2 separate regions of the Homo sapiens genome follow, and region 1 is linked to region 2. The links are contacts of gene promoters, found by promoter capture Hi-C in blood cells and fetal thymus (Javierre and others, 2016). All regions are on one chromosome and are shown on one strand. The core of a region is centred on a gene start or on the middle of the fragment in contact, and the rest is flanking DNA. Distances in the headings are between cores, read along the strand shown.

Region 1 (6,069 bases), core at 3,319-5,818, 690 kb before region 2:
TACATGGTTTCCATAAACCCCGTCTAATCGTTTCATAGCTGCCTCTACTTGCCCTCATTCTTCCCCAGCTCTCAGTCCAGAACTAGAATTTAAAATGGTATTTTCAGGTTCCTGGATGGTGGTTATAATGGGGAAACCACAGATCTAGTCCCCAGGCTAGTTGGCAGCTTGGTTTACTTCCAGGTTGGGGAGCTGCATGGTGTCCTCCAGTCTCCATGAAAAGCCATTATCCTAGAGATCAATCAGCACAATTCTCTTTTGTTAGAGAATGGAAAGGGATAGAGGTTGGGGATGAGGGTTTGAGGCTGACTTTGTCTTTTGTTTTCTATCTACCATTGCTATGTTTTGGAGTACAGTGGGTACATCAAAGCTGGCCTGAAGTCCTAAGTAGCTTCCTTGTTTTTTTTTGGAGAGAGTCTTGCTCTGTTGCCCAGGTTGGAGTGCAATGGCGTGATCCCAGCTCACTGCAACTTCCACCTCCCAGGCTCAAGCAATTCTCCTGCCTCAGCCTACGGAGCAGCTGGGATTACAGGCGCCCCGCCACCATGCCCAGCTAATTTTTTTTTTTTTTTTTTGTATTTTTAGTAGAGATGGGGTTTTACCATGTTGGACAGGCTGGTCTCAAATTCCTGACCTGGTGATCTGCCCACTGTGGCCTCCCAAAGTGCTGGGCCCACAGGCGTGAGCCATCGCACCCAGCCCTAAGTAGCTTTCTTATTACCTTCTCCACTGCCACAAATCAAGGTCAGGCTAGCATCATCTCTTGCTCTACGACTGCAACGGCCTCCCAACTGGTTTCCTTGCCTCTAGACTTTCCTCCCTCCAATCTGTTCTTCTTACCACAGCCAGAGTGATTGTTATAAAATGTAATTCTGCTCACGTCACTACACTGCCTAAAGTCTTTAAATGATTCCCTGTTGTCAAAACCAGTAGCAAAGATGGAGTGAAATCACAAGCCCAACATGGAAATGGAAGGAAGGGGTTTAAGATACTGGCTTCTATTGCTCACAAGCAAAGAACATTAATTCATGTCTGTAACCATTTACGACAGAAAGAGTCCAAAATAATAAAAATATTGCCTCCTCAAAAATGTGTCTGTCCTCATTGTACAAGGACATAGATCAGAAATATTCTCTAGATCCCACATAAATCACCTTAGAATATGTGGCAGTCATTTAGAAATCAGAAACTGGTCGGGCACGGTGGCTCACAAAAAATACAAAAAATTAGCTGGGCGTGGTTGTGTGTGCCTGTAATCCCAGCTACTGGGGAGGCTGAGGCAGGAGAATCGCTTGAACCAGGGAGTCGGAGGTTGCAGGGAGCTGAGATTGCACCACTGCACTCCAGCCTGGCAACACAGCAAGACTCTGTCTCAAAAAAAAAAAAAAGAAAAAGAAAAAAAAGAAATCACAAGCTAATGTAATCTGGTTGGCAACGCCAGAAGTTAGGAGGAGTAACTGGATAACAATAGAAAACTTTAAATATTTGTTCAACAATTTCTTACTAAATATTTCCTACTGCAAGTCACTGTGGATGTGCAAGAAATACTTTCTACCTTCTAGAACCTTACAAGGTAGTAGGCAAGATCACATATTTCAATGAGTATCAAAACTATTGGCTGAGCGAGGTGGCTTAGGCCTGTAATCCCAGCACTTTGGAAGGCCGAGGCAGGCAAATCACTTGACTCCAAAAGTTTGAGACCAGCCTGGCCAACATGGGGAAACCCCATCTCTAGCAAAAATACAAAATGCAGGCCTCACGTGGTGGTGCACGCCTGTAATCCCAGCTACTCGGGAGGCTGAGGCATGAGAATCACTTGAAGCTGGGAGGTGGAGGTTGCAGTGAGCCAAGATCACGTGACCGCACTCCAACCTGGGTGACAGAGCAAGACTCTACTGAAAAAAAAAAAAAAAAGAATGTGGCCTTATTTGGAAGTGGGCCTGTTGTAGATGTAATTAGTTAAGATGAGGCCATACTAGAGTAGGGTAGGCCCTTAACCCAATATAAGGGGAGAGACAGGAAAGGAGAATGCCACCTGAGGATAGCGGTAGATATTGGGGTGATGCCACTGCCACTGCAGGTCAAGGGATGCCATGGACTAATGGTCACCACCAAAGGCTAGGAAGAAGCAAAGAAGAATTCTCCCCTACAAGTTTCAGAGGGCACATGGCTGTGTTAGGTCATTCTTGCACTGATATAAAGGAATACCTGAGACTGGGTAATTTATAAAGAAAAGTGGATTAATTGGCCCACAGCTCTCCAGGCTGTACAGAAAGTATGGGGTCAGCATATGCTTCTGGTGAGGCCTCAAGAAGCTTCCAATCATCAGTTGGAGACAACATTGGAGACAACAGCAACAGGAAGGTCCCTCTCACCTTCCTCTCGCTCTTCTCCCCTGAAGCAGGCCATAGCACTAGCAAAAGCGTCTCAGGCCTTCCCCTGAAGGCAGACCTAAGACTGTTATTCAAGAGGTGCCCTCCCTCTACCCAGACAAAGGAACATCCTTATCTCTGAAGACACAGGACCACAGAGATAGACTTCTGCCTTCTCGGCAGAAGGCAAAGGGGAGCCAGCATGTCACATGGCAAGAGAGGGGGCAAGAGAGAGAGTGGGGGAAGGATCAGGCTCTTTTAAATAACCAGATCTCATGTGAACTACTAGAGAAAGAACCCCTCATCCAAGGGGATGGCACTAAACCATTCATGAGGGATCCACCCTAATGATCCAATACCTCCCACCAGGTCCCACCTCCAACACTGGGATCACATTTCAACATGGGATTTGGAGGGGACAAACATCCAAACCATATCCAATATCCTTGCCAACACTTTGATTTGGGACACCTACCCTCCTAAACTGTGAGACAACCAATTTCTATTATTCCCCAGTTTTGTGGTACTTTGTTATAGTCACCCTAGGAAACGAATGTGACAGTTTTATAGTTAGGTTATAAACAAAATGTCGTGAAAGATCATTTCTAGCAGCCCTGGAGCTTGTAAAGGACATGGCTTTGTGCTGAGCTCTAGCAGCATGGTTTTGGTACGTAGAGATGACATAGAGGAGAAACGGCTTTATGTTCTTCCATGTCCATCCGAATTCTATGTTGAGGTCTAACCCTCCTAAGCAGCCTCTCTGGAAAACTAGTTGAACTTGAACCTAAACCTACTGTCAACTAGGCCACTAACTAATATGACTTTTAAGGCACAAAATCAGGGAGAACAGAATCTTTTATACATGCTTTATTACTCAAGCAGCAGTGTGCAGTGATTAAATACTTACTCGCTTTTACTACATTTCTCTGACACAGCAAAGGGTGACGTCTTCTTCATGGAGACTTTAGTGAGCAGTAGCTAATTTAAAGCTCAGTGTAGGCCGGTCGTGGTGGCTCACACCTGTAATCTCAGCACTTCTTTGGGAGGTGGAGGCGGAGAGGGGTTGGGATTCCTTGAGCCTTGGAGTTCAGGGCCAGCATGGCAACAGGGCGAAACCTAGTTTTTACAGAAAATACAAACATCAGCTGGGCATGGTGGCGGGCCTGTAGTCCCTGCTACTCTGCAGGCTGAAGCAGGAGGAGTGCTTTAGCAGGGAGGTCGAGGCTTAAATGAGCCCAGGTCGTGCCACTGCACTCCAGCTTGGGCGACAGAGCGAGAAGACCCTGTTTCAAAAAACAAACACAAAAATTCATTCTAACCAAAACTGAATGCTAGTAGCAGGAACTGGTATGAAGATTGCGGTCTGGAATCCCTTCTAATGCGTCTGACCTTGCATTGTGAAGTCTTCACAGTGATGCTTCTGGGTTCTATATGATTATCGTCATTGCTTAGCAACCTCTAGTTGTAAATAAATTCTTTAAATTTCCTTAGTCGTTTGCGGGGCAAGGAGAGGGTCATTTACATGCCCTTTCCTTCTCGCTACTCAATCTTAAATTTGGGTTACGAATCAAACTGATGGACCCTACATGGCTTCTACCCGAAATTACAGGTATCTACCGTTCCATCTTCAAGAAAGGGAGGGGTTCCGCCAAGATGGACGAACATAAAAATCACAGGAGGAGCCTTCTAACAATGTGCATTCTTCGCACACTGAGTGGGGAATGGCCTTGTCATGTTTGAAACAGTGCCCCAACTACTCAATGTCCCAGGAACCCCAGTGGAGCGAGTTCTGTACACAGAGAGGGCCAAGATCCACAAATCAGCTAAGGAATCATTTCCATAGTCTCCCTCCCCTATTGAGTCTCGATCCACAAAAGCTATCCCCTGTCCCTCTCATCCATCAAGGGCGTGTTTTTCGCCTCTCCTTCCCCGGCCTCCCGCGTCCGCCCAGCCTGTCCGCATCCAGCCCCGCCACGCCCCATGGGCGGTCCCGAGCTGCGGCCCCGCCCCCTCACCGCCTCCCCGGCCGCGGAAACCCCGCCCCAACGACGCGGAGACCGGGGGCGGCCCGCGGCCCGCGGCGGGCGGGCTGGCGGGGACGGACGCGGGGGGAGGGGGGCGACGGGATGTGGGGTGGGGGCGGGGCCTGGCTGGGCGCCGGGACGGGAGGAGTCCCGGCGGCGCCTCGGACTTTTGCTCCCACAAGTCCTGCCTCGGAGGCGGGGGAGCTGGACCAGCAGCCGCCTGGAGCGTCCGAGTCACCGTCGCCGGGGCTCCCGCGCTCCCCAGAACGGTGGGACGCGGGGCTCGGCAGCCGCCAGCGGAACATGGCGCCCTGGACGCTGTGGCGCTGCTGCCAGCGCGTCGTGGGCTGGGTGCCGGTGCTCTTCATCACCTTCGTGGTCGTCTGGTCCTACTACGCGTACGTGGTGGAGCTCTGCGTGTGTGAGTACCGTCCCCGGGGACTGCGGCGGGGCGCGGGCCGCGGCTAGGGCGCGAGATAGGCCTCTGCGCCCCACACCCGCCGCCTTTCTGGAGCCAGCGCCGGACGCCGGGCGTCCGGCCCCGAACGCGCTCGGAAGCGCCGAGGTTGCTGCACCCGCCGCTTTGTTCAATCCTGCGGCGCGGCCTTGGGGCGACCTGGGGCTCCTGAAGCCTTGCGGCGGCTTCCCGGGTGCAGGTCTGGCCCAGGGAGGCCCCAAGAGCTTCCTGGTTCCCGCCGACACCGGGGGTCTGCATCCTTCTGGGAAGGAACGTGCAGAACGGGAGTAGTCGAGCTTCTTAGAAGGTTTAGGTTGTGTTTGTGGCTTTTTTGGCTTTTGTTCATTTTTTTTAAAAAACCAAATCTGTTCCTTCTGGATTGTTTTTGTTCAAACTGCGCGAGAAGAAACGCCTGTTACCTGTAGAGCCGGCTGTGGCGGGTTGGGGGAAGGGAGGTGTGTCTTTTGGTGGCCTCGGGCTGGAGGCGGGTCAGACCTGGAGGACGAGTAAGCTCCCACTTTTGATTTTTGGTGGTACTCGACTCATTGTAAAATTCGTTTATTTCTACTCTGAATCCAGCCGGCTTTTGCAGAAGGTTAAGACAGAAAGAATGGGTGGGAGGAGACATAACCTGATTATTTTTTTCTTGGCTGATTATTAAGGAGGCTTATATTTCTTATACTCATATTTTGGCGTGTTAATTTTCGTTACTTCCATTTTCCTGATAAGTTCTTAGCACAAAATTCTCATCTGATTCCCTGGAAAAAAGGAGTAGCATTGCAGTATACTTCAAGGATTTAACCTACTGGCTTGAATTGGTTGCCTTTAAGATTGAAGGAAATTGGTTGTCATTAATCAAAAACACTGTTTAGGGGTGACTGCTACATTTGTGATATTGGGCAATTTCTCCAACATTGTTTTGTCTTAAGTAAATTGTTCTTAGGCTTTGAGTATGTGGGTATTTTACACTTAAACTGGCCTCAACTAGGGTGTTCTGTATACATCTGCTGCCTATATCAATTTTTTATGAAAACCTAGGACCAAATGGTAAGTGGTGTTTGTAAACGTTATTGTTATTCCAGAATGTTCTACTCTTAGTCCTTAGACTGAATCTACCATTTTATGAAGGACTGTTAAGTGTTCTTTGAATAACGAACCACATCAGCTAGAAACTAATGTTATGAATGAGAAGAATCTGTACCACCCACTCTTGAAA
Region 2 (6,511 bases), core at 294-2,793:
CTGTCTGAGCAATCAGGTCTAGTGAAGGTACAAAAAACTCTGACATCTGTGGTCACTTTCATAGTAAAAATAGTATATAGTAAAATACATGAAGATAACATGTCTTACATGCTATTAAAGCAATGTCAGCTTTGAAAGAAAATGATCTACTGTTTCAGACTCAATTTGACTGAATGTAAACTTCTGTTAAAGTAGTTATAAGCTAGGGCAGTCTTATTTACTGAACACCACCTCCATAAAAAATGCACTCATAAAAGTTGGTTATTGTTTCTCAGTTTGTGTTAAATTTCTTTTAGTTTTTTAAATATATTTTCTTCCTGTTCCTTTTCCAGAATACACCTGATCTTGAAATATTTGGTTAATAGACTTGTCATCAATTCAAAACAAAGTCAAAATGTAGCATGGGTTATTATAAACTGGAAACAGTTCTTAAAATAGAAATTATAGTACACCCAATGTTATAAACCTGTTTCATTAACTACTTACTGAATAGCATCATTTGCCAGCTGAACAGTTTATATCCTTACCTTATACCAGAAAGGATTTTCACATTGCTCAGCAGAATATATAAAATTTAGCAAGATCATGAAATTGGTAAAGAAAATGGAGGAAAGAGAGGGTAGAAGCATAATACAGATTGATTTCTTGGGGAATTGGAAACAAATACTTTGTATCACTTATAATTTGGTAGCTGCTAAAACGTAAGGGAACCTTTCAATAATCAGTGCCTGTATGTGCAAGATAATTAAGGTGTTGTTGACAAAAATCATACATACTTACGGCGCTTGATGTCTAAATACATATATTGACCAACTCATTCAAAACTGAAGACTCTGAAAGACTAACAAGTTTTAAAGGTTCCCCCCCGCTACCGCCAATCCTGTCAATTTTACCAAAGCCTCAATTTGATGTCAACATTTAAAGTCAACGATTTGATTTAAAAAGACTGAGCAGACAATCGACCAATGAAGCCTTGACTTTGAAAATCTACGTGACTCAGTGCAAAATAGTGGGTTTAACTTTAATTAGGATCTTAATTTTTTTTTTTTTAGATGTTGCCTTGCTCTGTCGCCCAGGCTGGAGTAGCTGTGGTGCGATCTCGGCTCATTGTAGCCTCTGCCTCCCGGGTTCCAGCGAGTCTCCTGCCTCAGCCTCCTGGGTAGCTGGGATTACAGGCGCACGCGACCACGGCCAGCTAATTTTTGTATTTTTTAGTAGAGACGAGGTTTCACCATGTTGGTAAGGCTGGTCTCGAACTCCTGACCTCAGGTGATCCGCCCGCCTCGGCCTCCCAAAGTGTTGGGATTACAGGCGTGAGCCACCGCGCCCTGCCAGGGCCTTCATTTTTTTTGTTGTTGTTGTTTTTTTGCTACCATTCTTGGGGGCGGCTGATGAGACAAGCGAAGGAACGACTCCAGGCTGGAGACGGCCCTCAGTGTTGTAAACGCGGGATTGAGACGCTGCGGGGAGATGGCCTGCCTTGCGCAAGGGCCTGGGCGGGAGGGCCTGCGCCTGCGCTAGCGAGACTGGCTAGCCACTCCCACTGCACACGGCGAGTCTGGGCGACTGCGCACGCGCGGCTGGTGAGTGGCGGGTTCGGGCGCAGCTGTAGGGTTGGCTGCGCGCCGCCGAGGCGTTTTGGACTGGGTTAGGTGCCTTTTGTGTGTTTGTTTCTCACCTTTTTTCCAGGGTGGTAGTGGTGGAAGAGTTTAATTAGCAGTGGCTGGCGGATTCCTGAGGGAAGGAGCTGGCGCCGGCCTGAGAGTGGATCCTGGTTGCTGTGTTAGGCGCTGTTGGGCCTCGCGTCCCGGTCGCCGGAAGGCGCCGCGTCCTGTGCCGCGCACGTTGGCGCCCGGGCCTTAGGCAGCCTTGGTGCTGACGGGGAAATTAACCCCCAGGCTACGGCAGCGCGTGGAGGCCTCCCTTCCCTCCGAGTAGAAACAGGACTCGGCCTGCTGTCCTTTTCATCTTTGCCCTCAGAAGTTCGCTGATGGAGTTTGCGAAATGCCCAGGCCTGACTGTCCGCTCCTGGAGGGCGGGCACCCGCGGCGCCTGTCGCTGGGGCTTCTGAGGCAGGTCCCTTGCAGGATGCGGGTGCTGCGAGGTGGAGTAGACTAGGACGCGGGCGGCTTTACTGCGAAACGGGCAGTAGCTTCGGAGGTGCAGAAGAAGTGCTGGGACGATAGCGGGTCCCTACCGGGAGGGAGCCACATGTCAGACAGGAAGGCCTTCCTTATAGGGGTTGTGGTTACATGGGGCGTACATCACAACGTCGCACTGCACACGTACGACCTGCATTTCATTGTAAGCATTACCTCCTTTTTAAAGTTAATTTAAAAACAGGATAAATAGAATTCTGGAAAGCAAGAAGGAAGGAACTGTTTGAGGCAGGGGGACTCAAAGATGAAAACAGAATGAAAACCTTTGGCCCTTTTCTGGACGTAAATTGGATTAAGGGGAGAATCATCCAGCAATTTATAAAAAGTATTTGGAGAATATCTAGGCCTTACCCATTCATAGAGGGAGCCTTGCTCTCCTGCGGTTTACTGGAGTCTGGGATGGCTCCTAGGTTAATGCTCTTTGCTCTGAATCACACTATCTTAACCTAATTTCACACAAGAATGAATGTTGAAATTACAGTATGGTGGTTTTGCCCTAAGTAAATTTGATAACATGGAAATTGAGTAATTTTATCCAAAAAGAGACTAACCACAGCCCCTGAGAAGCCAGCTAATCCCTGCTTATGCTGCAAGCTAACGTGTCCGCCCCTTTGCTCATGCTGTTCCATCTTTCTGAAGTCTTCACTCTTCATCCTTACCTTTTCCTGAGGCCGAGTTGAAGCTCCACCTGCTCTTTCACTCCTCTCCCCACTCAGGCCCTCCACTCTGATCCCATGGCGTGAATGGTGCTTCTCTATAGAGGGCCTCCACCTTACCGTTGGTGTTCGCCATGTGTCTGCCTAACCTAGAATTTCTCAACTGCAGCTTGTAGGGCGGGATACTTCTTTAATGTGGAGGGCTGTCCTGTGAATTTTAAGTTCAGCAGCCTCTACCCACCTGATGCCAGTAGCACCCTCCTTCCCATTTACGGCAACCAAAAATGTCTCTAGGCATTGCCAGATGTTCCCCTTAGCGACAAAAGGGCTCCTCATTCTGTGAGAACTGCTGATTTAGAGTCTGAGCCACATAAGGTCCAAGGTCAGCTTAATAATAATATAATTTCAATATAATCCATAGGTACAAGTTTTAAAATCTAAAGAAAAAAATTTTTTTTACTGCCACTTGTGGGGCAGGGCCAGCCATAGACAGTGTGCCCAGAGTAGCCAGAAAAAATTTAAAAATAATAATAATATAACACAGTACTTCCCAGCTCTTTTGGATTTGAAAAATCTCATAAACCCCCTTAGAAATTTTAAAAACAATAAAGATATGATAAAATAGTGATTTAAAAAATAGTTAAAAATAGGTTCATTTAATTTAATTTTTTTTTTTTGAAATGTAGTCTCACTCCTGTCATTCAGGCTGGAGTGCAATGGCGAGATCTCAGCTGACTGCAACCTCCATCTCCTGGGTTCAAGCGATTCTCCTGTCTCAGCCTCCTGAGTAGCTGGCGCTATAGGTGCCTGCCACCACACCTGGGTAATTTTTGTATTTTTAGTAGAGACAGGGTTTCACCATGTTGGCCAGGCTGATCCCGAATTCTTTACCTAAGGTGATCTGCCCGCCTCGATCTCCCAAAGTGCTTGGATTACAGGCGTGAGCCACCACTCCCGGCCATTTCATTTAATCTTTGATGTTTATCTTGCTAACAGATTTCAGTTTTCCTCATTAGAAGAAGTGATGCACTTTTGAACTCACTTTAACAATGTAGGAAACTTCTACGATTCCTAAAATTGCAGCCCCCTATGCTCTCCATGTGTTCCTCCATTAATCTTATTGTCATCTAACATTTATTTCATATGTATTGTTTTAGTCTGTCTTTTCCTCTCTAGAATGTAAGCTCCAAGAGAATAAGGACTTTGAGACTCATCACCAAGAACAGTGCTTTCTACAGGGTAGAAAATGATTATCAAAGGAATGGATTTGGTACTCTTTATACTTTCATTTTGGGATCAAATTCTTATATAGATTGGAATTTAATTGCCTTTTACAGCTATGAAAGGCGACAATTTTATTAAATTGCTCTTTGGAATTCCTTGTTTTGCATTTATAGTCAACTGGTTCCTTTTTGGTTTTCATGTTTTATTTCTAAGTGATTAACAAGTTACAGGCTGTTATTTAAAAGCCCTTCTTCAGTGACGCAGCTGTGGAAAGTACTAATAAAAATGGAATTGGCTGGGCATAATGGCTCATGTTTGTAATCTTAGCACTTTGGGAGAACAAGGTGGGTAGATCACTTGAATCGAGGAGTTCAGGACCAGCCTGGGCAACATGACGAGACCCCCGTCTCTACAAAAATTAGCTGGACATGGTAGTGTGCATCTGTAGTCCCAGCTACTCAGGAGGCTGAGCTGGGGTAATTGCTTGAGCTGGGGAATTTGAGGCTGCAGGGAGCCACAATCGCACCACTGCACTCCAGCCTGGGCAGCAGAGTGAAACCCTGTCTCAAAAAAAAAAAAAAATTTATATGTCAAGGATAAATATATATGCATATGTGTGTATGTATGTGTCTGCATATGTATATGGACACACTCATATACACACACAAACACACTTTTATTTTTCTTTCAGTTCTAGGCAGTATTGTGGTGCAGCCTTTTTTAAGGAACTTGTACTCTTCGATTTTGCCAGGCAATATTGGCTTTTACTAGTTGCCTGATTTTTCTCCTGAATGAAAAGAACTCACAGTTCTGAAATACCAAATTGAAACCTTTTAGTTGTTTGCAGATCATTTTGCCATGTTTTCTCAGTTCAGCATGCACACAAGCTAATCTTTGGAATTTTTACTTGGAAATTTTCCGGCCTGTTGGGTTCTGGTATGCTTTCCTGAAAATGTGTTTTTGTGCTTATGCTTATTGCAGTAAACTAGAACTATTCATTTCAAGCATTTGTACCATTCTTTGGTGGGACTTCTATAGACAACCCCGTGTTGACTGAAATTATTTTTAGTTCTAAGTATAAAAACCTTAAAAGTAGATAATCCATCACTTTTCATCTTATAAAACTGAACAGTACACCCATTAAACCCTATTCTCCCCTCCCCCCAGCCCCTAGCAACCACAATTCTACTTTCTGCCTCTCTGATTTTGACTACTCTAGATACTTCATATAAATGGAGTTATGCAGTATTTTTTTAAATGACTGGCTTATTTCACGTAGCATAATGTCCTGAAGGTTTATCCACATTGTAGCATATATCAGAATTTCCTTCTTTTCCAAGGGAATCATATTCCATTGTATGTATTTATTTCATTTTCCTATATTCATGCTTGCTGATTCTCTTCTGCCTGCTCAAAACTGCTTTTAATTCCTCTAGTTAGTTTTTCATTTCATTATTGTATTTTTCAGCTCCAGAATTTCTACTTAGTCTCCTTTTATGTTTTCTGTCTCTCTATTTATATTTCCATTTTGTTCATATGTCATTTTCCTCACTTTCTCTACACCTTTCTTTAGTTATCTGAGAATCTTTAAGATAGTTATTTTAAAGTCTTTGTCTATGAGGCCCACCATCTAGTCTTTCTCAGGGATGGTTTCTCTTTTATTTTTTTTTTCCTTTGAATGGGCTGTACTTTCCTGTTTCTTTGTGTGCCTTGTAATTTTTATGTTGAAAAATAAGTCATTTGAGTAATAATGTGATAACTCTGGAAGCCATATTGTTCTCCCTTCACCAGATTTTGCTGGGTTTTTGTTATGTTTTTTTGATTTTGTAGGCTGTCTTTTGCTGGGGATCAGCACGAGTTGTAAACTTAAGATCTTCTCAGGTATTTTCTGAGCCCATGCCTTTCCCTGGGAATGTGTAATGGCTTTCTAAATTCCCCTGTATATGCAGTTGTGTTTGAATGTCTCAGTCCTTAGATATCTGGCTTCCCGAAGGGATAAAAGAAAAGTAGAAGCATGGGGGAAAGGTGCTGGCCCTTTAAATCTGCTGGAGGTCACTTTAGCCAGAGGGAGAGGGGCTTGCAACAATGGCTGCCACCTGCATCTTTGGCTTTCTTATCAGAAGCAGCAAAGGGAGTCAGAACAGATTATTCCAATGTTTGAAAGACAGGTGGTTCCTGTAAGTTTTATGCAAGGTGTTTCCTGAATGTGTGCATAGCCAAGCTGCTCCTGGAACTATTCTGTGTTTACTTAGATTTTGTGTTTGCCTATTTGACATATATTAAGTACAGGGACAAACTAAAGGCTAAAGTTGTTTACATCATCCTTTTAAGCCCTCTCTCGTGGGTGCACAAAACTCATATCACAGACTTCCCAGTGACAACCATAGAATGTCTGTTTTTGCTTTATGCCCAACAGGGGACATCCCCACCTAGATCCATCCCACTGACTTAGCAATAAAGGCATAGTCTCAG

Evidence for each region. The method cuts DNA at HindIII sites, captures the fragments that hold promoters and counts their contacts. A CHiCAGO score of 5 or more calls a contact.
Region 1: the fragment with the promoter of ZDHHC20 here is called in contact with the fragment with the promoter of EEF1AKMT1 in region 2 in 7 of 17 cell types (monocytes, naive B cells, neutrophils and 4 more); the score reaches 10.9 in monocytes.

Annotation. Positions count from the first base shown.
Region 1 is chr13:21,457,802-21,463,870 of GRCh38, reverse strand. ZDHHC20 (zDHHC palmitoyltransferase 20) reads left to right here and starts at 4,568. Exons shown (of 13, transcript NM_001330059.2): 1 at 4,568-4,817. The coding sequence starts at 4,700. It overlaps LOC124903131 (a long non-coding RNA gene), which reads right to left and starts at 4,324. Exons shown (of 2, transcript XR_007063713.1): 1 at 3,692-4,324; 2 at 3,225-3,488. RefSeq lists a cis regulatory region at 4,327, an enhancer at 4,243-4,412 and a silencer at 4,276-4,655. The HindIII fragment of the contact is 7,258 bases long and covers 2,318-6,069 here.
Region 2 is chr13:20,768,993-20,775,503 of GRCh38, reverse strand. It overlaps EEF1AKMT1 (EEF1A lysine methyltransferase 1), which reads left to right and starts at 1,543. Exons shown (of 5, transcript NM_001318939.2): 1 at 1,543-1,583. RefSeq lists an enhancer at 1,969-2,188. The HindIII fragment of the contact is 12,884 bases long and covers 1-6,511 here.